Linked DNA regions of Homo sapiens: regions 1, 2, 3, 4 and 6 are each linked to region 5. The links are contacts of gene promoters, found by promoter capture Hi-C in blood cells and fetal thymus (Javierre and others, 2016). All regions are on one chromosome and are shown on one strand. The core of a region is centred on a gene start or on the middle of the fragment in contact, and the rest is flanking DNA. Distances in the headings are between cores, read along the strand shown. Region 1 has its middle 27 kb from the start of SCYGR8. Region 2 has its middle 12 kb from the start of SCYGR2. Region 3 has its middle 14 kb from the start of SCYGR4. Region 4 has its middle 20 kb from the start of CCL20. Region 5 holds the start of MFF (mitochondrial fission factor). Region 6 has its middle 3.5 kb from the start of SCYGR3.

Evidence for each region. Contacts are between HindIII fragments. The CHiCAGO score rates a contact against its expected background, and 5 or more counts as called.
Region 1: a contact is called between a fragment that was not itself captured here and the fragment with the promoter of MFF in region 5, in 1 of 17 cell types (activated CD4 T cells). The highest score is 5.2, in activated CD4 T cells.
Region 2: a fragment that was not itself captured here is called in contact with the fragment with the promoter of MFF in region 5 in 1 of 17 cell types (activated CD4 T cells); the score reaches 5.2 in activated CD4 T cells.
Region 3: a fragment that was not itself captured here is called in contact with the fragment with the promoter of MFF in region 5 in 1 of 17 cell types (activated CD4 T cells); the score reaches 6.2 in activated CD4 T cells.
Region 4: a fragment that was not itself captured here is called in contact with the fragment with the promoter of MFF in region 5 in 1 of 17 cell types (activated CD4 T cells); the score reaches 5.4 in activated CD4 T cells.
Region 6: a fragment that was not itself captured here is called in contact with the fragment with the promoter of MFF in region 5 in 2 of 17 cell types (monocytes and activated CD4 T cells); the score reaches 5.9 in monocytes.

The regions. Positions count from the first base shown.
Region 1 is chr2:227,770,907-227,774,629 of GRCh38, reverse strand. No RefSeq gene overlaps it. Among named protein-coding and RNA genes, the nearest start is that of SCYGR8, 27 kb to the right of the region's middle. The HindIII fragment of the contact is 1,266 bases long and covers 787-2,052 here.
Region 2 is chr2:227,584,729-227,588,548 of GRCh38, reverse strand. It overlaps the pseudogene SCYGR9. Among named protein-coding and RNA genes, the nearest start is that of SCYGR2, 12 kb to the left of the region's middle. RefSeq lists an enhancer at 1,145-1,646. The HindIII fragment of the contact is 5,155 bases long and covers 1-3,820 here.
Region 3 is chr2:227,629,936-227,633,986 of GRCh38, reverse strand. It overlaps the pseudogene SLC19A4P. Among named protein-coding and RNA genes, the nearest start is that of SCYGR4, 14 kb to the right of the region's middle. The HindIII fragment of the contact is 742 bases long and covers 2,061-2,802 here.
Region 4 is chr2:227,792,177-227,796,346 of GRCh38, reverse strand. No RefSeq gene overlaps it. Among named protein-coding and RNA genes, the nearest start is that of CCL20, 20 kb to the left of the region's middle. The HindIII fragment of the contact is 1,441 bases long and covers 869-2,309 here.
Region 5 is chr2:227,323,235-227,327,301 of GRCh38, reverse strand. It overlaps MFF (mitochondrial fission factor), which reads right to left and starts at 2,051. Exons shown (of 9, transcript NM_001277062.2): 1 at 1,875-2,051. MFF-DT (MFF divergent transcript) reads left to right here and starts at 2,138. Exons shown (of 14, transcript NR_102371.1): 1 at 2,138-2,184. RefSeq lists a silencer at 1,710-1,999 and an enhancer at 2,180-2,229. The HindIII fragment of the contact is 6,653 bases long and covers 1-4,067 here.
Region 6 is chr2:227,609,283-227,613,371 of GRCh38, reverse strand. It overlaps the pseudogene SLC19A4P. Among named protein-coding and RNA genes, the nearest start is that of SCYGR3, 3.5 kb to the left of the region's middle. The HindIII fragment of the contact is 3,305 bases long and covers 1-3,293 here.

The DNA of each region.
Region 1 (3,723 bases), core at 170-2,669, 450 kb before region 5:
AAAGGTTACATAGCTTGTAATAATTGAAGAGGCTGAAGGCAGCCAGTTCTTACCTTAGAGAATTAGAATACTAGGGACAGTAGAGGCTTCCCCAATAAGTCTGTTTACCCTACCTCCGTTAACCAACTGTTGAGCCAGATGGCCCTCTCGCGGGGAGGTGGACCAGAAATACTGCCCCCTAATGGTATTTACTTTAAAACGCGGTACCTGAGCTTTAATCATTTGTAGAACTACTCTCTTAACCATGTTAATTATCCACAAGACTCAGAGCTTCTGTTGTTAATTGTATAGTAAACAAATGCCTGGAGGGCGAGCTGCTCCGGACCGGCCGGAGTGACAAACCTCTCTTGGTGTGTAGGGGTTCAGACACTCAGCAGGACTGGCAAAACAGAATATCTGTGTGTCAGTGTACATTTTATCCATCCGTCGTTTGGGTCAGGGTCTGTGGGCAGACCCCCGTAGCTAATGCCCTCTTGTGAGGAGCAATACCTCAGTGCGTGGAGAATCAGGACCCCAATCCAGGTCTTCTCACGATCTTCATGTAACCCACAAACTCTGTTTTGCTTATATCGCTTTGGATGAAAAAGGCAAAATGTTAGAATATGGAAAAATGGTATAGTAATTCACTATTATTTTCAAAGAAGAGGCATTCATAAATACAGGAAGATGGCCAAAGGAGAAACTGGAGATAATAGTTATCTGTCACTGAAAAATTAACTCTTCACTTATTATGTTATAAGCTGTTTATTTTGTCCTATTTGGTACAGAGAAAGAAGGAGCCAAGCTTTCAAAGCAAGATTGCATTTATATTAGAACCCAAGATCTTCTTCCCCTTAGCAACACTTCTCTCCCTGTATCTTTAGTATTATAGGTGAACTAAGTATGCAGAGAGTAAATATTTCATAATCTTAACACTTAGGCCGGGCGTGGTGGCTCACGCCCGTAATCCCAGCACTTTGGGAGACCAAGGCGGGTGGATCACGAGGTCAGGAGATTGAGACCATCCTGGCTAACACGGTGAAACCCCGACTCTACTAAAAATACAAAAAAATTAGCCGGACATGGTGGTGGGCTCCTGTGGTCCCAGCTACTCGGGACGCTGAGGCAGGAGAATGGCGTGAACCCGGGAGGCGGAGCTTGTAGTGAGCCGAGATCACGCCACTGCACTCGAGCCTGGGTGACAAAGCGAGACTCCGTCTCAAAAAAAAAAAAAAAAAAAAGACACTTGCTGCCAGAAATACTCAGAGAGGGAACTATTTTCATAAGAAAAAAAAAGTCATAATAAGTGGTTAAGATCACCATGAGCAAGGACAGGGAAACAAAAGAGAATGCTGAAGTGCTTTGCATTATAAAGCAACAGAAACTTGGGTATGATGAGAGAGGAGGGGAAGGAGAAACTGGTGACCATATAAATGCATACAAGCTAGGTGTGTCCCTGACACTCAGAACCCTTGGGGAAGAAAGACAGTGGGCCTAGTAGAGCCCCACTTAGCACACTGAGTGACAGCCTAAGGCACAAAGCAATCCCAGCATACACTGTATACACATTCATTATGGCCTGTGGTAAGTGAAAGATGGTTCCACGTTTGGCCAGTGGGGAGAATTGTGTGGTTTACACCAGCAGTCCTCAACCTTTTTGGCACCAGGGACTGGTTTTTTGGAAGATGATTTTTCCACGGACCAGTGAGGGTTCAGTGGGGGATGATTTCAGGATGACTCAAGTGCATTACATTTATTATGAACTTTATTTCTGTTATTATTACATTGTAATATAATGAAATAATTATACAACTCACCATATTGTAGAATCACTGGAAGCCCTCAGCTTGTTTTTCTGCAATTAGATAGTTTCACCTGGGGGTGATGGGAGACAGTGACAGATCACTGGGCATTAGATTCTCATAAGGAGCGCGCAACCCAGATCCTTACATGAGCAGTTCACAATAGGGTTTGTGCTCTTATGAGACTCTAATGCTGCAGCTGATCTGACAAGAGGCAGAGCTCAGGCGGTAATGTGAGCAATAGGGAGTTGTGGTAAATACAGATGAAGCTTCACTCACTCAACTGCTGCTCACCTCCTGCTGTGTGGCCTGGTTCCCAGCAGGCCACAGACTGGTACTGTTCCACAGCCCGGGGATTGGGGACCCCTGGTTTACACGACTTGGCCAGGTGACTGATAAGTACAAACTTCATCACACAATATGACCTGGCCCCTTTGTCACATGGAACAAGGAGCAAGTAAATATGACTCCTGCAGTTTCAAATTCCCTCTCTTCCTTTGTGTTCTGGTTTTGTTTGTTTGCTTTGCACTTTGAGTGTTATTGTGATTCTGGAGATCTCAAGGAGAAAACTGCCTAGAGAAGGGTCTCAATAGGCCGGGTGTGATGGCTCGTGCCTGTAATCCCAGCCCTTTGGGAGGCTGAGTCTGGTGGATCATGAGGTCAGGAGTTCAAGACCCACCTGACCAACATGGTGAAACCTCATCTCTACTAAAAAAAAAAAAAGAGAGAGAGAGAGAAGTCCTCAGTAATGACCCAGAAGGCCTTCACCAAGTAGTGGAGAAACTTTTTTTTTTTTTTGAGACAGACTTTCACTCTTGTTGCCCAGTCTGGAGTGCAATGGGGCAATCTCATCTCACTGCCACCTCTGCCTCCCGGGTTCAAGCAATTCTCCTGCCTCAGCCTCCCAAGTAGCTGGCATTACAGGTGGGCACCACCACACCTGGCTAATTTTGTATTTTTAGTAGAGACGAGGTTTCACCATGTTGGTCAGGCTAGTCTCGAACTCCTGACCTCAGGTGATCCACCTGCCTTGGCCTCCCAAAATGCTGGGATTACAGATGTGAGCCACTGCGCCTGGCTAGTGGAGAAACTTCTAAGAGTAGACTTAACTTATAAGAATGTCGGCCTGGGAGAAAAAGGAGGAAAGCTACAGATAACCTGACAAAATCCTTCACTTCATAATGAAGAACCAGAGGCTGAAGACAGCAAGTATTTGGCCTCAGAGAAGTTAGCTGGTTAGCATTTGAGCAGATCTCCTACGATTCATGCCACTGCTGAAGAAAACTAGATTTACCCATTTTAAAACATGCCTCCGCCTGCATGAGGCCATCGACCACATTCTCCAGGGCATTAACTGTTTCCAGCAAGGAGGAGGTAAAATACTCCTCCAGAACCCAGCAGTCTTTTTCTTCAGCAGAATCGTGTTCCCCGTGGAACTGTTGTAGGCAAAACAGAACTTTGACGCAGCCCAAAGCTCAATCGATTCATGATCAGTTAAACAAGGAGAAAGAAGGAAATCTCAGACCCGAGGAAACTCTAGGGAAAACACCTATGATACAACACTGGGGAAAACTAGCAGAAGTCATCATGACAATGTTTTTTTTTATTATTATTATTATTATTATTATTATTATTATTATTATTATTTGAAACGGGGTTTTGCTCTGTTGCCCAGGCTGGAATTCAGTGGCACAGTCTCAGCTCACTGCAACCTCCACCTCCTGAGTTCAAGTGATTCTCCTGCCTCAGCCTCCCAGGTAGCTGGGATTACAGACGCATGCCACCACACCAGGCTAATTTTTGTATGTTTAGTAGAGATGAAGTTTCACCATGTTGGCCAGGCTGGTCTCAAACTCCTGACCTCAAGTGATCCACCTGCCTCAGCCTCCCAAAGTGCTGGGATTACAGGTATGAGCCACTGTGCCCAGCCTATTCTTAAAAT
Region 2 (3,820 bases), core at 996-3,495, 260 kb before region 5:
TGATATTATTGACCTTTTGTTTTGTCAAATGTATTTTGGGGGCAGCTGTCAAGTTAAATCAAAACAAGAAAAGTTTGTACATCTCTTAGTGTTTTTAATAGAATTGCAATGAATTTATTAATTTATTTGGAAAGGATTGACATCTTTTAGATGTCAGTTGAGATGTTCCATCCACAAACCTCTATTTCTTTCTTCTTTTATGTCCCTCAGTAGAATTTAAAAATTTTTTCCATCAAGATCCTGCATGTCATTGGAGTCATATATCATACTTTAATTTTATTTTTGTTGCTATTTCAAATGGATTCTCTAAATCCTTGTTTTGAGTAAACCCATTCAAAAAGTAATTTTTTAACTACATTTTCTATTTGATATGAAATCTCTTTATGTTGAATATTGATTTTTGAGACTCCCTTTTCCTCCAGGACTTCCTATTACCTTTAATATATTAATGTGAATTTCCCAAATGGAAACAATATGCAACATTTCCTGGGCTTCTTTGATGACAAAACTCATTTTAATAAAGACTCTATATACCTAATGTGTTGGGGTTTTTATAAAGGGTGATTAAGGATAATACACATAAAATGTATATACTTAGAGTAAAAGACAGATACATTTTGAAGAGGACTCTTTCCTCTGGGCAGCTATTACTGATTTGCGAAAGACGAGGAACGGCTGGATCTCTTTGGCTTAGACCATTGACTACTATCAAAATAATTTTACCCTCAGGTAGACAGATTGAAACAATGCAGTGTTTTCTGAAAAAAATGTCAGTTCTGATTCCGTTTTTGAAATAGAAGTGAATTTATCTAAAATTGAAATAAAAAATCAAGTTGTGTACACCCCTGAGGAAGTAATAAACAGGAAACAAAAGTTTGCCACGGAAAGTGGCCAAAACAACAAGGAAGTGACTATAGTCATGTGCCAAGCCCCAGCAGCAGTATTTAAGGGTCCCTTGCAGAGGCAAACATCAGACCTCGTCACCTCTCACATCCTCCCTCCTCACTTCACCTGAGTCCTCTCTACTGACACCATGGGTTGCTGTGGTTGTGGAAGTTGTGGCTGCAGTGGTGGCTGAGGTGGTGGCTGCGGTGGTGGCTGCGGTGGTGGCTGTGGCAGCTGCACCACCTGCAGGTGCTACCGGGTGGGCTGCTGCTCCAGCTGCTGCCCCTGCTGCCGCGGCTGCTGTGGAGGCTGCTGCAGCACTCCCGTGATCTGCTGCTGCCGCCGTACCTGCAGCTCGTGTGGCTGCGGCTGTGGGAAGGGCTGTTGCCAACAGAAATCCTGCTGCCAAAAGCAATGCTGCTGCTAGGCAGGGCACCTGACTCTGGAAGAGTTTGCTGCATCTTGCTTGCCCATTGCAAGCCTTCCCCCAACCTCGCCCTGGTTCTCTTTCCATCACTGGGAGTCACACATGTGACTGGGAGTCACACAAGGGCTGTAGATTTGATACCCTCCTCTCTGTCACATCACAAATCTATAATTTCAAAATATTGAGTGATATTCATGTGAACAATGAAAACTATGAAAGCAAGGGACAGCCCAGCTCCTGCAAACAATTCACGGTTGAAGAAATGGAAAATGAAATCATAGTTACTAACTTTTATGTTTTTCTGAAATTCCTTAACACAAACTTCAGTGCCTGCCTTCTTTTCACTGTGCTGTAAACTACATGCTATTTCTACTCTATTCTCATATCCAGCAGTTCTGTACTGCTAAAAACTAAATGCACAGAATAATGTACCATATATTGATGGCTAACCATCTCTTTTACTTATTGTCTTGCTATAAAAGGACCTTTTGTGCTGTATAAATTCACGCAAGTTAAATAAAGGAACCCTGTTGGGAAGAATTTCCTCTACTGTGAGATTCATTTCTTTTATGATCAAACTTGTGCTAAAATGCATTATGGGCTCAATATCCAGGGCAGAAATACTTCGCATGTGGAGCAGGTCTCAGGGAAGCCTTATTTACCCAATTTCAATTTCCCTGTCTCACTGTTTGTGACAGTCATTTCTTTGGAGTCAATGTTAATGTAATTTACTCCCAAATTGCCTACATCTCACTTCCACTCATTGGGTCAGGTCAAAGGAGCATGAACCCAATTTGGGTTGCTGACATGCCAAAAGAATAGCAGGTGCTTTACCCCAAATCAGCCTAACCCATCCCTGAAAATGATAACCTTAAAACAAATGTAATACATTTTCAAATCTGCCTTAAATCTTTCCTTTTCTAATCCCAATTAGAAGTATATGACCTTAGGGCTGGGCACAATGGCTCACGCCTATAATCCCAAAACTTTGGGAGGCCGAGGTGGGTGAATCACCTGAAGTCAGGAGTTTGAGACCAGCCCGGCCAACATGGTGAAATCACATCTCTACTAAAAATAGAAAAATTAGGTGGGCATGGTGGCAGGTGCCTGTAATCCCAGCTACTCAGGAGGATTGCTTGAACCTAGGAGCTGGAGGTTGCAGTAAGCCAAGATCGCACCACTGCCCTCCAGCCTGGGTGACAGAGCAAAATTCCGACTCAAAAAAAATAAAAATAAAAAAAAGGAAGTATATGACCTTGGATACAAAATACTTATCACAGAGAAGGATTTTCAGAAGAGGCCACAACCAGGTCAGGCCAGCAGATATCTGCCTCATGCAGAATTGGCTCTGTGCTGGGATGGGTTGAGACGTATTGGGAGCAGATGTGCATGCAGGTACTGACAAAGTCTAATGAGCCCAGGTTAGGCCCACCCTGAAGAAGTAGAGGTTTCAATCTCTTTGTTTTTACTCTAGCATTAATCTTAGAAATGGTGATAATGGCTTAATTTTATATTTGCCAGTTTCTAAGAGCAATTCTTCACCTCATTCCCATGAGGAGAACAAAGCAAAAGTACAAAATGGACCTAAGATGTTGATCAAGGATCCACCGTACTATTTACATGCATTCACGTGCAAGGGCATGAAGATTTTTTAAAGTCTCTCTGCAACATGCAAATAAAAACTGAAATTACACTTAGCCAATCCAAACTAAGAATATAATATAAGTACCTGATTGTTCATGACCCAGGAAGTTGCTCCTCATGTGTAACTAACAGAATATAAGTTAAACAGAGGCCTGGCACAGTGGCTCATGCCTATAATCCCAGCACTTTGGGAGCAGAGGCGGGTGGATCACTTGAACTCAAAAGTTCAAGACTAGCCTGGGCAACATGGTGAAACCCCATCTCTACTAAAAGTATAAAAATTAGCCAGGCTTGGTGGCGCACACCTGTAATCCTAGCTACTTGGATGTCTGAGGCAGGAGAGTCGCTTGAACCCGGGGAGGTGAGGTTGCAGTGAGTTGAGAACATGCCACTGCACTCCAGCCTAGGTGACACAGTGAGACCCTGTCTCAAAAAAAGAAAAATAAATAGTAAGTTAGAAAAATTAAACAGAAAGAAAACATCTACATAACTGAAGAATTCAATGGCAACACCTAGTAGACTTAGAAATTGGAAAGAATTAATCTACACTGATTTTGTGATATATCCTACATTTTAATAACTTAATCATTTACCTTTAGACAGGAGAATTTCTAAAAAATTCAGGATAAAGGGTGCCTGTTCTCTTTAGAAGGAGTCCAGGTACAGAAAATCCATGCCCTCTATTGCTAGCCCATTTCAATGTACTATTATCCTCCACTTAAAAGTCTTCCATACACATGATTGAAATCTTCCCTGCTTTTGTGTTTCCTCTTGTCCTCTGTAGACCAAAGAACAACATCTAAAGATCTGCTCAACAAAACCCTTTATAGACCTGGGACAGTCTGGTGTTTTTAACAACCAGAT
Region 3 (4,051 bases), core at 1,182-3,681, 310 kb before region 5:
TCTTGACTGACTAAATTTAACATCCCAGTACAATTATTTAAAATGAATTAATTACCAGATTGAATGAACTATGAAAGGAAATAATTTGTGGATTTTGCAGAGAAATATTCACTGATTAGACTCTGAAATTGCTAACTCAATAAATAATCCAGTGATTAAATCTTTAAATAAGTAAAAAATTCTTCATGCTGACCTGTTTTCACTTATTGATAAGCTTAATTTTTTTTTTTTTTTTTTTGAAACAGAGTCTCCCTCTGTCTCCCAGGCTGGAGTGCAGTGACACGATCTCAGCTCACTGCAGCCTTTGTCTCCCAGGTTCAAGCGATTCTCCTGCCTTAGCCTTCTGAGTAGCTGGGACTACAGGCATGTGCCACCACACCCAGCCAATTTTTGTATTTTTTGGTAGAGACAGGGTTTCACCATGTTGACCAAGCTGGTTTCAAACTCCTGACCTCAAGTGATCTGCCTGCCTCAGCCTCCCAAAGTGCTGGGATTACAGGCCTGAGCCACAGTGACCGGCCTGATACATCTGATTTTAAAAGTGACTTGCTAAGCCATATTTATCTCAAATAATGTTGAATGTTTTCTAGTTGCAGAGTATTTTGAAAATTTGGTTTAATTTTAGAATTGTTTAACTAGTTTTAAATTCTTAGCGTACTATATCCCATCCCACGGAATGTTAAAATACATTGCACCATCCCATTTGTCTATTTCTTCAGTCTATCTCTGCTAAAAGAGCTTTCAGAAAGAAACTGTCAATAGAAACCTGGGCTTCCTCAGCAGACCAAAGCCTTGAGAAGAACACAATTCGCTGTTTTGTATTTGAATGCGCATGTGTGTGTCCTTTTAAAACTCTTTCCATTTGTACAATGACAGATTTCAGATTGGAGTTAATCTGAGCATGGAAGACTATGCCCTGACGTTTGGAATTAATCCCTTCATTGCCTTGATGATTCAACCCATCGTGACGATGACTGTGGTTGACAACCAAGGACTGGGGCTTCCTGTTGACATTCAGGTAAGTGCATGGGCCACTGTGCTCTCATGGACAAAGAGGCATGTTTTCAAAACTATATATCTATATCTATTTATCTTTATACTTTTAAAAATCAGAGTTATTGATAAATAATATACGTGCAGTAAGTTCACACTTTGTATGTACAGTTCTATGAATTAGGGCAAATGTACAGCTGTGTGACTACCACCACAATGAAGATAAACATCAACCCAAACAGTGCTCTTGTGTTTCTCTGCCACCAATCCCCTCTCCCCACCCCTCGTCCCTGGCAACAACTGATTGGTTTTCTATCCATACAGTTTGTCATTATAGAATGCCATATCAATGGAATTATTTTTTATATAGCCTTTTATTTCTAGTTTCTTTCCTTTAGCATGATGTCTTCAATAGAATAATTTTATACTGAGAAATAGAAATATGGTGTAGTTAAGGTTCTATTTCTTAAGAAACCTTTTCATTAAACAGGTGACCTTTTCACTAAAGAGGTGAAGGAATGAAAGAACTGCATAAAATTAAAGCCATAAAGTCATTCCAGTGGAAGTGGTTCTCATTAGCTACAGCTAAAGGTTTTTCCTTGCCCTAGCTAAAGTTCAATCTTATTAAAGCTTAGTTCCCAAATTCTGTAAATCTACTCTGTCTCATGGACAAAATCGTCATTCTTACCTCTCTATAAATAGATGAGAATTCCTACAAAATATTTAGAAGCTATCTTGTTTAAAAGCAAAAAGGCAAAAAGAAATCATTTCAGAATACAAAATTAAATGAAGTAATGCCAGGACATTTTTTAAAAATCTACTTTGTAGTCGCACTTGTTCAACAGAGGAAAGGATTGCTTCCATTTAATAAATCTTAACACTAAGATTCATGTAGATTCAGTACTACACACTTGTTCAATATAATATGCTTGTTTGAGGCTATTCGACGTGTAAGCATTACTTTCTAAAATAAAATGTAAATTCCTAATTTACTATCTGGTTGGCAAATTGCTCTTCAGTTTTTCAGAAATTATTCTGTGTATCATCTGTTAGCGAGAGAACAAGCTTGAAATCAGCAAAATCTGGTTTTGAATCTTGATGTTTATAGTGACATGTTAAAATTTTTTCATTTTGGAAAACTTCAAATACATACAACATTTTGAAAAAATAGTATAATGAAACAAACTTTAACAAATATCAATTTGTGGCCAATCTTGTTTCATCTGTACTCCACTCCCAATGAAATTTCTCACCCCTGCTTCTAAATTATTTTAAAGTAAACCCTAAAGATGTAATATGTTCTTAATGTCTCAATTTTCTTATGAGTAAAATGGAGAATATAAGACTTACTGCATGAGTTCTTACACAGGTTAAGTGCTGGCCTCTAAACCACACTATTCCTGGCCTTTAGTGTTGTCAATAAACAAACATCTCTCTCTCTTTTCCTAATTGAAAAAAATAACATCTATTTACATTAATCAACATGGTTAGGAGGCACTTACCTTTTCTAAAGACTTTTACATTAATCAGCTCCAGATATTTCCCTTACTTTTCGACAAATCCATTATATCCTAAGTTGAAATGAATGAATTCCTATAACTGAATTAGGTAAAATAGGACTAGAAATAAAAACGAGCCATTAATCCTTCTATTCTCCTTTCTGCCACTATTTTGTGTAACCTAATTTAAAATTTCAGTGTCTTCTTTGTTGGCAGATCAACACCTTTTGCTCTTTCTTCAAAAGGCAGGGGGTCACACAGGCATGAAAAGCTGAAAACAAATCTAAAATTTGGCAGAAAAATTCAAGCTTTACCTTTTGTATCCCCTGATACTTCAATGTTTCCGAATCCTTTTACCTTCTTGACCAAGAGGAATAGATTTAAGTCACTCCTTTAAAATCTTTGTATTGCTACCGTATCTTCTCTGCTAGTCTCTGCTGACATCCTCAATGCTGGAACAACTTTCAATTCGGTTCTTCCATGGAAAGCTATTTTAAAGTTTAATTGCTAAAGAAGAGACCAGTTTACCCAGGTACAGAGCAGGATGAGCAAAAACATACAGCTCAAAGGCATAACAGAAGACAAACCCTATTCCTATATACAAAGAAAAAAAGGTGTTATTATGAATGGCTGGTCTTGAAAACTGTGCTTCTTAAAAATTGATTTTTGGTAGGAATCTAATTAAATATGCTTTCATTAAGTTTTTAAGAGCCAGTAATATGGAAGTGCATTGATTAGTAACTCCCAAATCTCAATCATAAATGTCCATTCATCATTGACTCTGTCTGCACTCATGATATTCCACTAATAGGATGCCAAATGCCATTTTTAAAAATTGGAATCTAAAAAGTAGAAAATACAAACTGAATCAGGATTTTTCTCTGACACAGAGATTCAGCAAAGAGTAGGATGCATCGAGACTTCCAGAAGCGATTCCTTCATTTTCCCAGCATCTCTCAAACTGCTGTCACAACATAAGCTATTTATGGAGTTTCAAAGGTCTTAATGGATTTATGAAGATCTTAAAAAGGGGCTTCAAGACACATCTTTGAAGATGACTGAAAGATTAGGGGAAGAGGCCCATGAGGAAAGCTAAAAGAAGCATTTTTATCTCAACTAGAAAAAGCTGAAGAGTAATTTAGTAATAATCACCAAGCCGGTTATGGAGAGAGTGGTAGATATAATTGTCTTTACTGAAGGCACAAGACTGTACTGTGGTTGACTAATGATATAAAATGATTTTCTGGCAGAATCTTGTTTCCAAAAATAGATGAAATTCACAAGTTTGAATATAAGAGGGATTTGGAGGGGGTGGGTAAATAACCATACAACATCTCAAATAAGGTTAATTTTTTAAAATAAGCCTTTAATTAGGTAAATGAAGTAATAACACCCCACAAGTTTTGCACCAGAACACCCACCTCTTGGTTACCTGTTACCAGACCTCTTCATCCCTCTCATCGCCCCCCACTTCCCCACTTTCACCCCCCAATTTGCAGCGATAACTTTTGGAATGAGAAACAGACTGAGTAAGTGCCCATTTCTTCTTGATCAAGGGA
Region 4 (4,170 bases), core at 340-2,839, 470 kb before region 5:
GGACTACGCAGAGAACAATTTACTAAGGAATGCTGATCAGTTAAGGCACAAACTGGAGACCGAGGCCTGCGTTCCTTCATAGCACGTAGCTTCAGGTTAGAGCCAAGAATTTCCAAGTGGTCGTTATGAATGGCGTTAACTAATAGGCTAGCATGTTGACATATTCCAAGTTCTAAGGTGTGATGTGTAAATACTCCAGTTTTATGTGGGTTTAAGTCTTTTACAGTTCTATAGAAAAAGGTCCAGCTGCCCATTTGTATATGGCTCCAGAGTTATTCCAGGAAAATCTAAGCCTAACCATTTGTTTAAGACAATGTATATTTACTATGAACATAATCAGAAATGCGTGCAAAAATTACATACAGAACTATTCACTGCATCATAATTAAAATAGGAAAGGAAACAAAAAATACACAAATAGTAAGAGAATAGTGATTAAAATCATTGTTGGATATCCACAAAGTTCAATATTATAGTATGTTGCCATTTAGTAATCTGAGAAGCATTTTATGCAAGGGATAAACGCTAATGACATAATGACAGACTAGCAGGACACAAAATCGTAAATGGTGTGTTAACTCATTATGGGAAGTTGTATATTTCCCATAATTGTGTATTTCCCATATTTATGCGTTTTAAAAAAAAACTAGAAGGAAATTCTCCAGAATGAAAATAGAAATGATCTCTGGTAGTGGGAGGCGTTCCCCTTTGGTTTTCACATTTTTTCTATATTTATCAATTTTTTAATTTTTAAATTTAATTTAATTGTATTTTATTTTTGAGACAGGGTCTTGCTCTATCACCCAGGTTAGAATGCAGTGGAACAATCACAGCTCACTACAGTCTCAAATGCCTGGGCTCAAAAGCTTCCTCCGGCCTCAGCCTCCTGAGTAGCTGGGACTACAAGCACATGCCACTGCACCTGGATATTTACCCTTTTTTAAAAAAAAGCAATAAACACATGTTACTTATAATCAGAACAGAACAAACTATTTTCAAGACCACATGTGAAACAAACTACGGTTCCTGGTATATGAAGCAAAATAAACTTAGAAATATAGCCGGGCACCATGGCTCATGCCTGTAATCCCAGCACTTTGGAAGCCTGAGGAGGGTGGATCACTTCAGGTCAGGAGTTCAAGACCAGCCCAGCCAACATGGTGAAACCCTGTCTCTACTAATAATATAAAAAGTTAGCTGGGGGTGGTGGTGGGTGCCTGTAATCCTAGCTACTGGGGAGGCTGAGGCACGAGAATTGCTTGAACCTGGGAGACAGAGGTTGTAGTGAGACAAGATCATGCCACTGCACTCCAGCCTGGGCAGCAGAGTGAGAGTCTGTCTCAAAAAAAAAAAAAAGGAAAGAAAAAGAAAGAAAGAAATGTAACGTTAGGCTGGGCTTGGTGGCTCACGCCTGTAATCCCAGCACTTTGGGAGGCCGAGGTAGCCAGATGGCTTGAGCCAAGGAGTTTAAGACCAACCTGGCCAACATGGCAAGACTCTATCTCTACAAAAACGCAAAAATAACAACCAGGCATGGTGGCACATGCTGTTAGTCCCGACAACTCAGGAGGCTGAGGTAGGAAGATGGCTTGAGCCTGGGAGGCAGAGGTTGCAGTGAGCCAAGATCATGCCACTGCACTCCAGGATTCCAACATGGGCAACAGAGTGAGAACCTGTCTCAAAGAAAATAAGAAAAAGAAACAAGAAATATAATTTTACAGAGTTACTTTTATTTATAGCTTTAATACTTTATAGTAAAAATTGCCACGAAGAGAAAGAAAGACCTTATTTCTTTTTTTTTTTTAGACAGAGTCTGTTGCTGCCCAGGCTGGAATGCAATGGGGCGATCTCAGCTCAATGCAACCTCTGCCTCCCGGGTTCAAGCAATTCTCCTGCCTCAGCCTCCTGAGTAGCTGTGATTACAAGCATGCGCCACCACGCCTGGCTAATTTTGTATTTTTAGTAGAGATGGGGTTTCTCCATGGTGGTCAGGCTGGTCTCGAACTCCTGACCTCAGGTGATCCGCCCACCTTGGCCTCCCAAAGTGCTGGGATTACAGGCATGAGCCACCGTGCCTGGCCAAGAAAGACATTATTTCTTAGAATACTTCATACCAGTCTCTCATGAAAATATTACAGTGAGCCTTACAAAATTTTCACTGCCCTCCTAACTTTGCAGATGGCCCTAGAAGAAACATAACTCTGCCAGGAAGACATCAATAATATATTATACCTTGTATTGGGATTTACAGGATAAAATAGATGAAAGCTAATTGGAAACAATTTACATGGCAAGTAAACTTTTAAGCTTTTAGAGAATTTAACTGTGAAGTTATTTTATGTTAGAAAAATATGTCCATAAAACAGTTTGAGAAACACAAATTACTTCATCTCATGAAAGCTAAAGAATCACTAATTAACCATACCAATAACTCACTGTGTTGGTTGGGCAAGTTCTTGCGTTCTCTGGGTCTTAGTATCTCCATTAGATAATTAGAAGTATGCAATTAGTTACTTCCTGGACTCTTTTTGGGAAGTAATATTATATGATTCAATGCTATAAAAATAACATTGGAAAGTAATATCGTATGATTCAATATTATAAAAGAATTCTTTTACAGATCTTACTAATTAGCAGCTTCATTTCCACTCAGTAAGAAGAAATGACTATAACCTCTTACAGTATTCTAGCCTGATGATTTTAATCAGTTTATAACAACAGTTTAACCAGTGGTTTTATAAACATTTTATTGCCTTTCATCATGGTCTGACCGTAAACAATCATCCACTTTGAACCTTGTTCTGTTTCATGATTGCGTTACATCATGCCATCTTAGTCAGCCTTTCTTCTCACAGCAGAAGCTAGGCAAACCCTAAGCTATCATGTCACTTCCAGCTACATACATTACCATTTATGGCCCATTTCTTTAGGGCTTACAGGTGCCCATTAGGAGTGAACCCAACCCTAGAAGCAGATGAGCAACTGGAATGCTCCATCATGACTGCCAGCCCAGGCCAAAAGGCACCAATCTGCTTGGAGTCTCTACGGCACATCAGAAAGAGTAAATGAATCATTGGCTTGATGCGAAAGATGTTTCAACTGTTGTAGAACTAGGTAGGGTGACGTAGTAGCTAACCAGGGAATGACACTAATAAGCCCAAAGCTTTGGATCCATTACTGAGTTGACTTACTGATTTGCCTCTGTCGTGCGGATCTTTCCAAGCTGGCCACATGTAAGGGAGCTTGAGTGAGTGATGGTAGATGAATAAGAATAAAATGTGATTTCAACTGGCACAAAAATCAGTATAATATCTCCAGAAAAAGTCTGAAATTTTTTGAAAGCCAACCAATAGGATACACCTTCCATGATGACTGAGTATAAGCATCTTCTGAGAGACTCCTGCCCTTTCTGAGGGACACCGATCTCCCTTGGTAGAGACAAATGAAGACTGTCAACCCCTTTTAAACATCTGTGTCATACAGAGTAAGCCTTCCAGGAAAGAACCTGCTCCCAGAGATGAGTCAAATGCAGGTGATAATTGTTACCTAAGCTGAGGGATGAACAGGACCACTGAAGGAAAAAAAGTTAAGGCCTGGTGCAGTGGCTCACATCTACAATCCCAGTACTTTAGGAGGCCAAAGCAGGATCACTTGAGCTCAGGAGTTTGAGATCAGCCTGGGCAACATAAGAAGACTCCATCTCTACAAAACAAAATTAAAATAGGTTGGGCACAGTGGCTCATGCCTATAATCCTACCACTTTGGGAGGCTGAGGTGGGAGGATCACCTGAGGCCAGGAATTAGAGACCAGCCTGGCCAACATGGTGAAACTCCATCTCTACTAAAAATACAAAAATTAACCAGGCATGGTGGCACACACCTGTAATCCCAGCTACTTGGGAGGCTGAGGCAGGAGAATTGCTTGAACCCAGGAAGCAGGGGTTGCAGTGAACCGAGATCATGCCACTGCACTCCAGCCTGAGCAACAGAGTGAGACTCCATCTCAAAAATAAATAAATAAAAATAAAAATTTAGCTGGGCATGGTGACACACATGTGTAGTCCCAACTATTCAAAAGGCTGAGGCAGGAGGAATACTTGAGACCAGAATTTCGAGGCTGCAGTGAGCTAGGATTAGGATACTCCAGCCTGGGTGGCTGAGTGAGACCCC
Region 5 (4,067 bases), core at 802-3,301:
TGTTACATAACAAACGAGGCAAAATCTCTCTTAGAATCACAGATGATTTCATATTTCTACTTTCTAAGCCCAGTGGTTCCCAAACACCAGTAACTAACTTGCCAACTTCATGGGTTTTTTTTTTCCCATATTCACAGAGTACATTAACTTTTTGCTACAGTTAATTTTTTTAACTCGACTTTTTAAAATCAAAAAAGTATTGTAAAAGAAAATTTTGTATCACTACCTTAAACCATGGCTGTACATATATAAATACAGATTGCAAAAACATCCTATTACAAAAAAATCCTCATCCACGTACCGCCTAGAGTCAAGTCACATGCCACTAGCGGAAAGTGTACCAATTTTGGGACACAATGATTCCAGCCCAACTTTCTCATTTTCTGTATTAGAACACTGGAACCCAGAAAGCCTCGGAAGTCACCGAAACAACTTGAGTCAAACTGACTGTGGTTGCAAATGTTTATGTACTTTTCAAAAACAAACATACAAACAAACAAAAACAAACCAAAAAAAACCCTCCAGTTGTTTATTACCTACTGCGTGGACCTAGTTCACACAGATGGGCCACTCTGCACACCCTGTTTCAGTTCTTTTTCAAAGAAACTATATTTAAAAAGTCACTGCAAACTTTTAAAACTATATATTAATGAACTTTAAAATAAGGTTATGAACCCACAGAAAAGTTTCAATACCAGAAGAGAGGAGAGCGAAGACTAAACTTTGCAATTCTGAAAGGAGGCAGCTCTATCAGACAGGAAGGGAGAGAACACAATTTCCTTTTGGAAAAAATGGCAAAACCAATATACAAGCCTTTGAAACCAAAAGATAGAAGGTCCCCCAAGCAATTTAATTGCATGGGAAAAGACTACTAAGTATAACTAAATCGTCCTAATTTTCCTAAGGGTTTTTCTTTTGGGCTCTCATTAGCCAACGGAATTGAGGCAGAAAAAATGTTTTTCACGCAGGGAGACAAAACATTTGTGATCATCTTAAGTCTCTCGGTGGATGAGAGGCCTGAATACAAATGGTTCTATATTTGGGCAGAAGGGCCAGAAACCTTTTTTTTTTTTTTCCCCTTTAATGTTCTCCAATGAAAACATGTCACTTTTGAAAGGGTGCTCTTCCCTCGAGAATGCCCTTTGCTTCTAACTTTGTGGGAGGTAGACAGGGGTGTTCTTTTACGATAGTAATAGTAGCACACGTCCTGCAGAGGAAGGTCAGAAGCTCGGCGGAACAGGAACCGCAGCTTTCCTCCGGCTTCCCAGCTCCTGGAAGGAAACCCGAGAGCAACTGCCTGCAGCCACATCTGCGAGCAGGGATGCTCACAGACGGACAGGGTGGCCCGCAGCCACCCGCGATGCCACAACCTGGGCTTCCAACAAGGCCCTTCTTTTCCAAAATGTACTTGCCACAAAACAACACAAAAACCTCCTTTTAAACAAGGCAGGTTTAAGGTCAGCCTGTAAGGTGTCAGGGCCTTGGCAGGGAAGGATGAGTGAAGACCTGCAAAGCCCGGCGTTCACGCTCACGGGACTCCCGCTGCTTCCCAAACCCCTATTTTCCAGTCGGAAAAGTCCGGGTTAATACACAAAAGGAGACGCCGAACCACACAAGGTGAAGAGGTTCGCCCAAAAACACCTGCAGAAGACGCTCCTCTCCCTCGCTCTCCTCGGGGACTCAAGGTCCCGGGGAGGAGGAAAGACCAGGGTTGAAGGCAAGAGGCCCGGGGACGGGACTCGGGTCAGGGAGACACTACCGGGGGGGCCGGGGCCACCGCGGGTCCCTGTTGGCCGGAGGGTCTCGGCGGCGGCGATAGGCCTGGCAGCCAGCTCGGGCGGCAGGTCGCGGGTCGGGAAGACGTCAACACTCACCCCTGGGCCCACAGGAGGGTCCCGGCGAGGACCCCCGCCCTCTGGCTCCCGGGGCGCTCGAGTGGGCGCTCTCAGAGGTGGTTGGCTGAGAGCACGGAGGCGCCCAGGGACAGCACCGGCGGAGCGGCCCGCAGAGGGCCAGGGCAGAAGCGCGAAAGGCGCGGGCTGGCCCCTTCTGGGAGCCGTAGCGGAAGAGTGTTCGTGGTCATGTGACGCGGAAAAGGGCGGACGCGTGGCCCACGCACTGGAACGGCTCCACGGTAAGCGATGCGCAGACATCTTTGTTGTGGGCGAAACGAGGTGACCGCAGGTGACTCCTCTTGCGGTTAAGTTTAATTCACACTTCGGCTTTATTAGATTTTGTAATCTTTAAGAACTTGGTGTTTGCAAGGTAAACCTTTGGTAGCCAATTAAAACAACTTTTTCAGGACCATCTGGCATGAAAATTTCTATGCTGTGAGGCTTAGGAATTCTCATATGTAAATCAGCTCCGCCAGTGATTCCATGAGTTCCAATTTGATACTTCTTAAGCCCTCGGTTGATCAGACCTTGTCTTCCATGAGAATTCCGGGAGAGGGGAAGTTAAGTTTCACAGTAGTTGGCGGCATCGTTTAGCTTTGGGAGAGCACTCTCTGCTTCTGAACACCCAACCACAGACTCTTCCCCCCAGGAAGCCCTTGCTTAGAGCGGGGGAAAAATGGTACAGTGCTTGTCAGTATGGGAATGTACTGAGGCCAAATAATGTGATATTTTATATGCCTTGGTTTTCACAAACACCTAAAGGTGTACACATGACTTATGTACTCCCCTACGATCTAATTGATATTCTAGAGATGTTACCATTCTTCAAAATGATTTGGGAAGCCCTCTGAATTGCGTTCTTGGGCTTCTTAACACTGGTGTAGGGAAAGTGAAAATATTTCCTCTCCCCTCTTGGGGTCTTGGCTGGGCCTAAGAATTAAACTGATGAGGAAAAGAGTCAAACTCTAAAATATTTGAAGAGATTTATTCTGAGCCAAATGTGAGTGACCATGGCCCGTGACAGAGCCCTCAGGAGGTCCTGAGAACATGTGTCCAAGGTGGTTGGGGCGCAGCTTGGTTTTATGTATTTTAGGGAGGCATGAGACATCAATCAAATAAATTTAAGAACTACATTGGTTTGGTTCAGAAAGGTGGGACAACTCAAAGCAGGGGCTTCCAAGGCTGTAGGTAAATTTAAACATTTTCTGGTTGACAGTTGAAGACCTGGGACCCATAGAAAGGAAATGTTGAGGTTAAAATAAAAGATTGTGGAGACCAAGGTTCTTTTGAAGTCTTATAGTGGCTGCCCTTAGAGACAATGGATGACAAATGTTTCCTATTCAGATCTTTAAAAGGTGCTAGATTCTTACGTAATCTCTTTAGGATTGGGAGGACCTGGAAGAAAATGATCTAGCTATGTTAATAGAAATTCTATGTAGATGCAGATTTTCCCCCAACAAAGGACAGCTTTGCAGAGCCGTTTCAAGATATGTCAAAAACTAAAAAAAATGTTTTGCGGTAAAATATTTTGATTTTGTTTCTTGTCTCGTTATGCCAGTGTCAGATTGGAAAGTAAGTCACAATATATAGGGTTAAATAAAACCCATCTGATGAGAATTTATGGATTGTAGGGCATGAATCCCTAGGCCCCTTAGATAGGAATTTGAGCAAGATTAAAAAAAAAATCAGAGCTTAGTCTCCACTGACGTAAAATAGAGACATAAAACATAACAGGAGGAAAGCATACAAATTTTATTTAGTAATTTTTACATTTACATTGGAGCCTTCCCTAGAAAAATGGAGACCCAAATTAACAGTTGGACCCTAAGTGCTTTTGAGTCTCCATTTTTCTAGGGAAGGCTAAAAAGAGTAGTAAATTGTGAAAATGTGAGAAAACAAACAGATTTGGGTTAGTGCAGTTAATGCAGAAGTGACTAAGAAGATAAAGGTTGTTGTAACAAAGTGGAAATGAAAATCGGTAAGTTTGTGCAGATACAGCTCAGCTTTGACTCCATGTCTCTGGTGTTGAGAACATCTCCCTTCCTCCTTATACAGGGAGGGCACCTTTCATACGGAAGTTTTATCTCCTGCTTTCAGGAAGGAAAAAGGAAAGCCACAGTGCTCTTTTTGCATTTTTTTTTTAAGTGCCTTTGACTCGAAAATAATCTTTAT
Region 6 (4,089 bases), core at 392-2,891, 290 kb before region 5:
ACTGACCAAATGAATGTTATAACCAAAGGGAACATGAGTCAAATAACCATGTCAAATAAGATTTCCAAAGAGGGGAAGATGCTGTCACAGAAAGACAGTTTTCCTTCCACCTTGAAATTCAGAAGAGAGGGTTTGGAGGCAGGTGCGAGATGAGCCCTCTGAAGTCTAAGTTGACAAGGTGGTTTTGGGCACTCATCTGGCTCTGTCTCTATTCCCTTTCCAGCTCCAACAGCCCTGAGCCTCTAATACCCTCAGGCTACCCAAAGGCCCTTACTTACTCTCAGCCTTTAGGAATTACCTCTGGGGCTCCACCCTCTCACTCATTCTTCCCTCCCAGGCTTCACCTGTAGAACTGCCCCCTCCCTTGTGATGGTTCTCAGCTGGAAGAGCGGGGTCAGGAGAGAAGTGCCAGTTCATCCATCTTACGCTAAGGCAAGTGGCATCCGCTTTTCCCCACTGAGGGAGGACCCCTCAAGTCGCTTTTCCCAGTAATGTTGACCAACCTAATGGGCAGAATTCTGGGACATGTGGTTTTTCCAGCCACCAAGACCCAACACTTCTTAGGCACTTGCTCCTCCTGTCCCACTCGCTGAAAATGTGAGTTTGTTTCCAGTCAGCGTAAATAGAAGATGTGGCTGTCTGCCAGGATTTGCTGGGTCTCAATACTCATGTTGACATAGATTTGTGAAAAAAGAACCCAGGTGGCCTGGTATGGGGTTTGTGTTGTGTGTGTATATATGTACATATATTATGAGATAGTCAGATGGTCTGTCAGGCGCGGCCACAAGAAGAGGCAAAGGCGGCTGGGCACGGTGGCTCATGCTTGTAATCGTAGCACTTTGTGAGGCCGAGGTGGTTGGATCACCTGAGGTCAGTAGTTCAAGACCAGCCTGACCAATATGGTGAAACCCCAACTCTACTAAAAATATATATACAAAAATTAGCTGGGCACAGTGGCATGTGCCTGTAGTCCCAACTACTCGGGAAGCTGAGACAGAGAATTACTTGAACCCGTGAGGTGGAGGTTGCAGTGAGCCAAGATCGTGCCACTGGGCAACAGAGTGAGACTTTATCTCAAAAATTAAATAAATAAATAAATAAAAAGAAGAGACAAAGGATAGGTTCAGGAAAACAGTGTATTCCCATCACAGGTCCTAAAGAGATGGAGTCACTGCATGCCAAGAGGGGGTCACATGGGAGGCAGCACCGGGGGAGTGGTCTCAGCCAGGCAGACAGGGAGAAAGGACCCATAGGCTTGCTCACGGGTGTCAGGGTGGAATATATGAGCAAGAGGTGCAGGGGTGTCCATCAGTGCATCTGAATGTTACTGGGTCTCAGTCAGGGGAGGACAGGGAGGTGAACCTGTGGCAGGGGCTAAACATACCACGCTGGGGCTCACCTGGGAGAGATGCGCAAAACTTACAATGCAGTGCACTGGGGGCACCTGTCTGCATCTCACCCCCGCAGAGGAGTGGCTGTAGGTACCTCCCTGTAATCCAATTGTGAGTTGGAGTCTTGCTTTAGGCTGTCTGAATAATTAGCACAAATGTAGTCAACTATCCCCTACTGTAGGGGAATTTATAGGCAGGGCTTATAGGGATTTGCAAAGCAAGTGAGAATACTAGCAGATTGAAAAATGAAAACAATTTGTTGGGCACAATCGAACTACAGAAATATCTTCTTTAAATTCTGACTATCTTTTTTTCTTTTTTCAGTATTAAGTCCATCTGAGAAACTAGAGCCTTGGGACCCAGGGATGAGGAAACTTACCGTACAGACATGCGGGCTGACCTTCATTCACCCTGCGGGCCATGGCCTCTGCCATCCAACTGCAGAGGCTTCAGCCGAAACTCTCTCCAGCACTGCCCTAAACAGACCAAGTGTGAGGGAGGGAGCATGTAATGAAAAGTCCACAGAGAACAAGAAGCCACAAGATTCGGTGCTCTGGAGCCATTCTAGATGGTTTCAGGGGAACTAGCTTCCCACCTCTGACAGGGATACCATGGCAAATACCACTCTTTGCCTAGGATTATAATTCTTTGTGCACAATGCATCCCATCCCAAAGACAGTCCACAGCAGGACTTGCTCCATCTCTGAACTGGTCTTACCCCCTTAAACCTGCCTTTATATCTAGGAGTTTCTTTATTTTATTTTATTTTTTTGAGACAGAGTCTCGCTCCATTGCCCAGGCTGGACTGCAGCGGCGTGATCTCAGCTCACTGCAACCTCCACCTCCTGGGTTCAAGTGATTCTTGTGCCTCAGCCTCCCAAGTAGCTGGGATTAAAGGCACGTGCCACCATGACTGGCCAATTTTTATATTTTTAGTAGAGATGAGGTTTCACCATGTTGGCCAGGCTGGTCTCAAACTCTTGACTTCAAGTGATCCGCCCGCCTCAGCCTCCCAAAGTGCTGGGATTACAGGTGTGAGCCACCAGGCCCAGCCTATATCTAGGAGTCTCTTGATGAGCATTGGTCGACAGAAAGAAGTCTCTTCTAAAAATTGTTAATGCTTTTATAGACTACTCATAGTCTGAGTCATAAAACATCATTTGCCTTTCAATTTATACCTTCCAAGTGAATATGATTATTGAGGATTATCTAATTATTATCTACGTTTCTCTCTAGATATAAAAAACACCATAGATCCTATACACACAAAAATGGTTTTTCTATCAGAAATGGACTCACTCGCCTGGCAAAAGGACACAGATTAGATTATTCTAATCTCAAGGCCCCTTAGGCTTATGAATTCAAAAAAAAAAATAGAAGAAATGAACAAAAACTTAAATCACAGTTTGTTATTAAGTAATATCTGAAATGAATTAGAAAGAAACCATAAGCCTTAACAATACTCCAATCACAGTTAAATTAATTTAGACAGAAAAGCAAATAGCAATTGACTTGAAAATAAGAAGTGGAGCCGAAGGTGGATACAAGAAATCCAGGAGGGCTAAGATAAATCCCAAATCCAATGTTCATCAATGCCTACACATTCAGTACAACCTGATGGCATTAATTCTGTGGTTGGGGAAATGTGAAAGTGAAATCGATAATACCACAGTTCTAAATGTGCACTGTTGGCTGAACTTATGGTGTGGTGGGGGGTGGTAAAAATTAGGCTTCTAAGAAAGGATGGGACTCTGCCCTCCAGGCAAGGAGTAAATGGCCCCAGCAGATGGAAAACTAAAGCAAATGTAATCACCTGCATTTTGAAAATAGGTGTGTTTCTGAGAATTTGTTTGAATTAGTTCTTTGTAAATAAAACAGGATTTTGAATGCATTCAGGAAGCTTGTCTTTTTTTTTTTTTTTTTTTTTTTTTTTACAGAGTCTCGCTCTGTGGCCCAGGCTGGAGTGCAGTAGCACAATCTCGGCTCACTACAACCTCTGTCTCCAGAGTTCAAGCGATTCTCCTGCCTCAGCCTCCTGAGTAGCTGGGATTACAGGTGTGCGCCACCACGCCCGGCTAATTTTTTTGTATTTTTAGTAGAGATGGGGTTTTGCCATGTTGGCCAGGCTGGTCTTGAACTCCCAACCTCAGGTGATCTGCCCGCCTCGACCTCCCAAAGTGCTAGGATTACAGATGTGAGCCACTGCGCCTGGCCCAGCTTGTCTATTTTTAAAGGAACCTCACATCTCAAAATTGAATACGAACTGTAGAGAGAAGCTGGACATTCAAGTATTCTGTTTGGTAACTAGAGGGCACAAACAACAGAGGCAGGAAGCTACTCTCAGGGTCTTTAACTTGCTCCACGATCACTGCGCATCCACCAAAGGCTTTCTAAGAGAGATTAAGATTTTCTAGAATGTGAGATATGTTCAAACCAAAAAAAAAATGCAAAGATAAACTTTTAATAATATATTTTTATTTTATTAGGAAATTTAGAAAGTAGCTATTGACAAATAGGAATACAAGATAGAAAAGGAGCAGAGAAAAGCACACTAATGGAAATGAAATGATCATATACATCAAAAAGTCTGTTGGGAATCATGATCCTCTTTGATTGAGCTCAGTGATGTGGACTCTTCCTGAAGAGGTAGGTTGTCCTTGTGTCTTTGTTTTGGCTGCTTGATATTAGAGAGGAAACT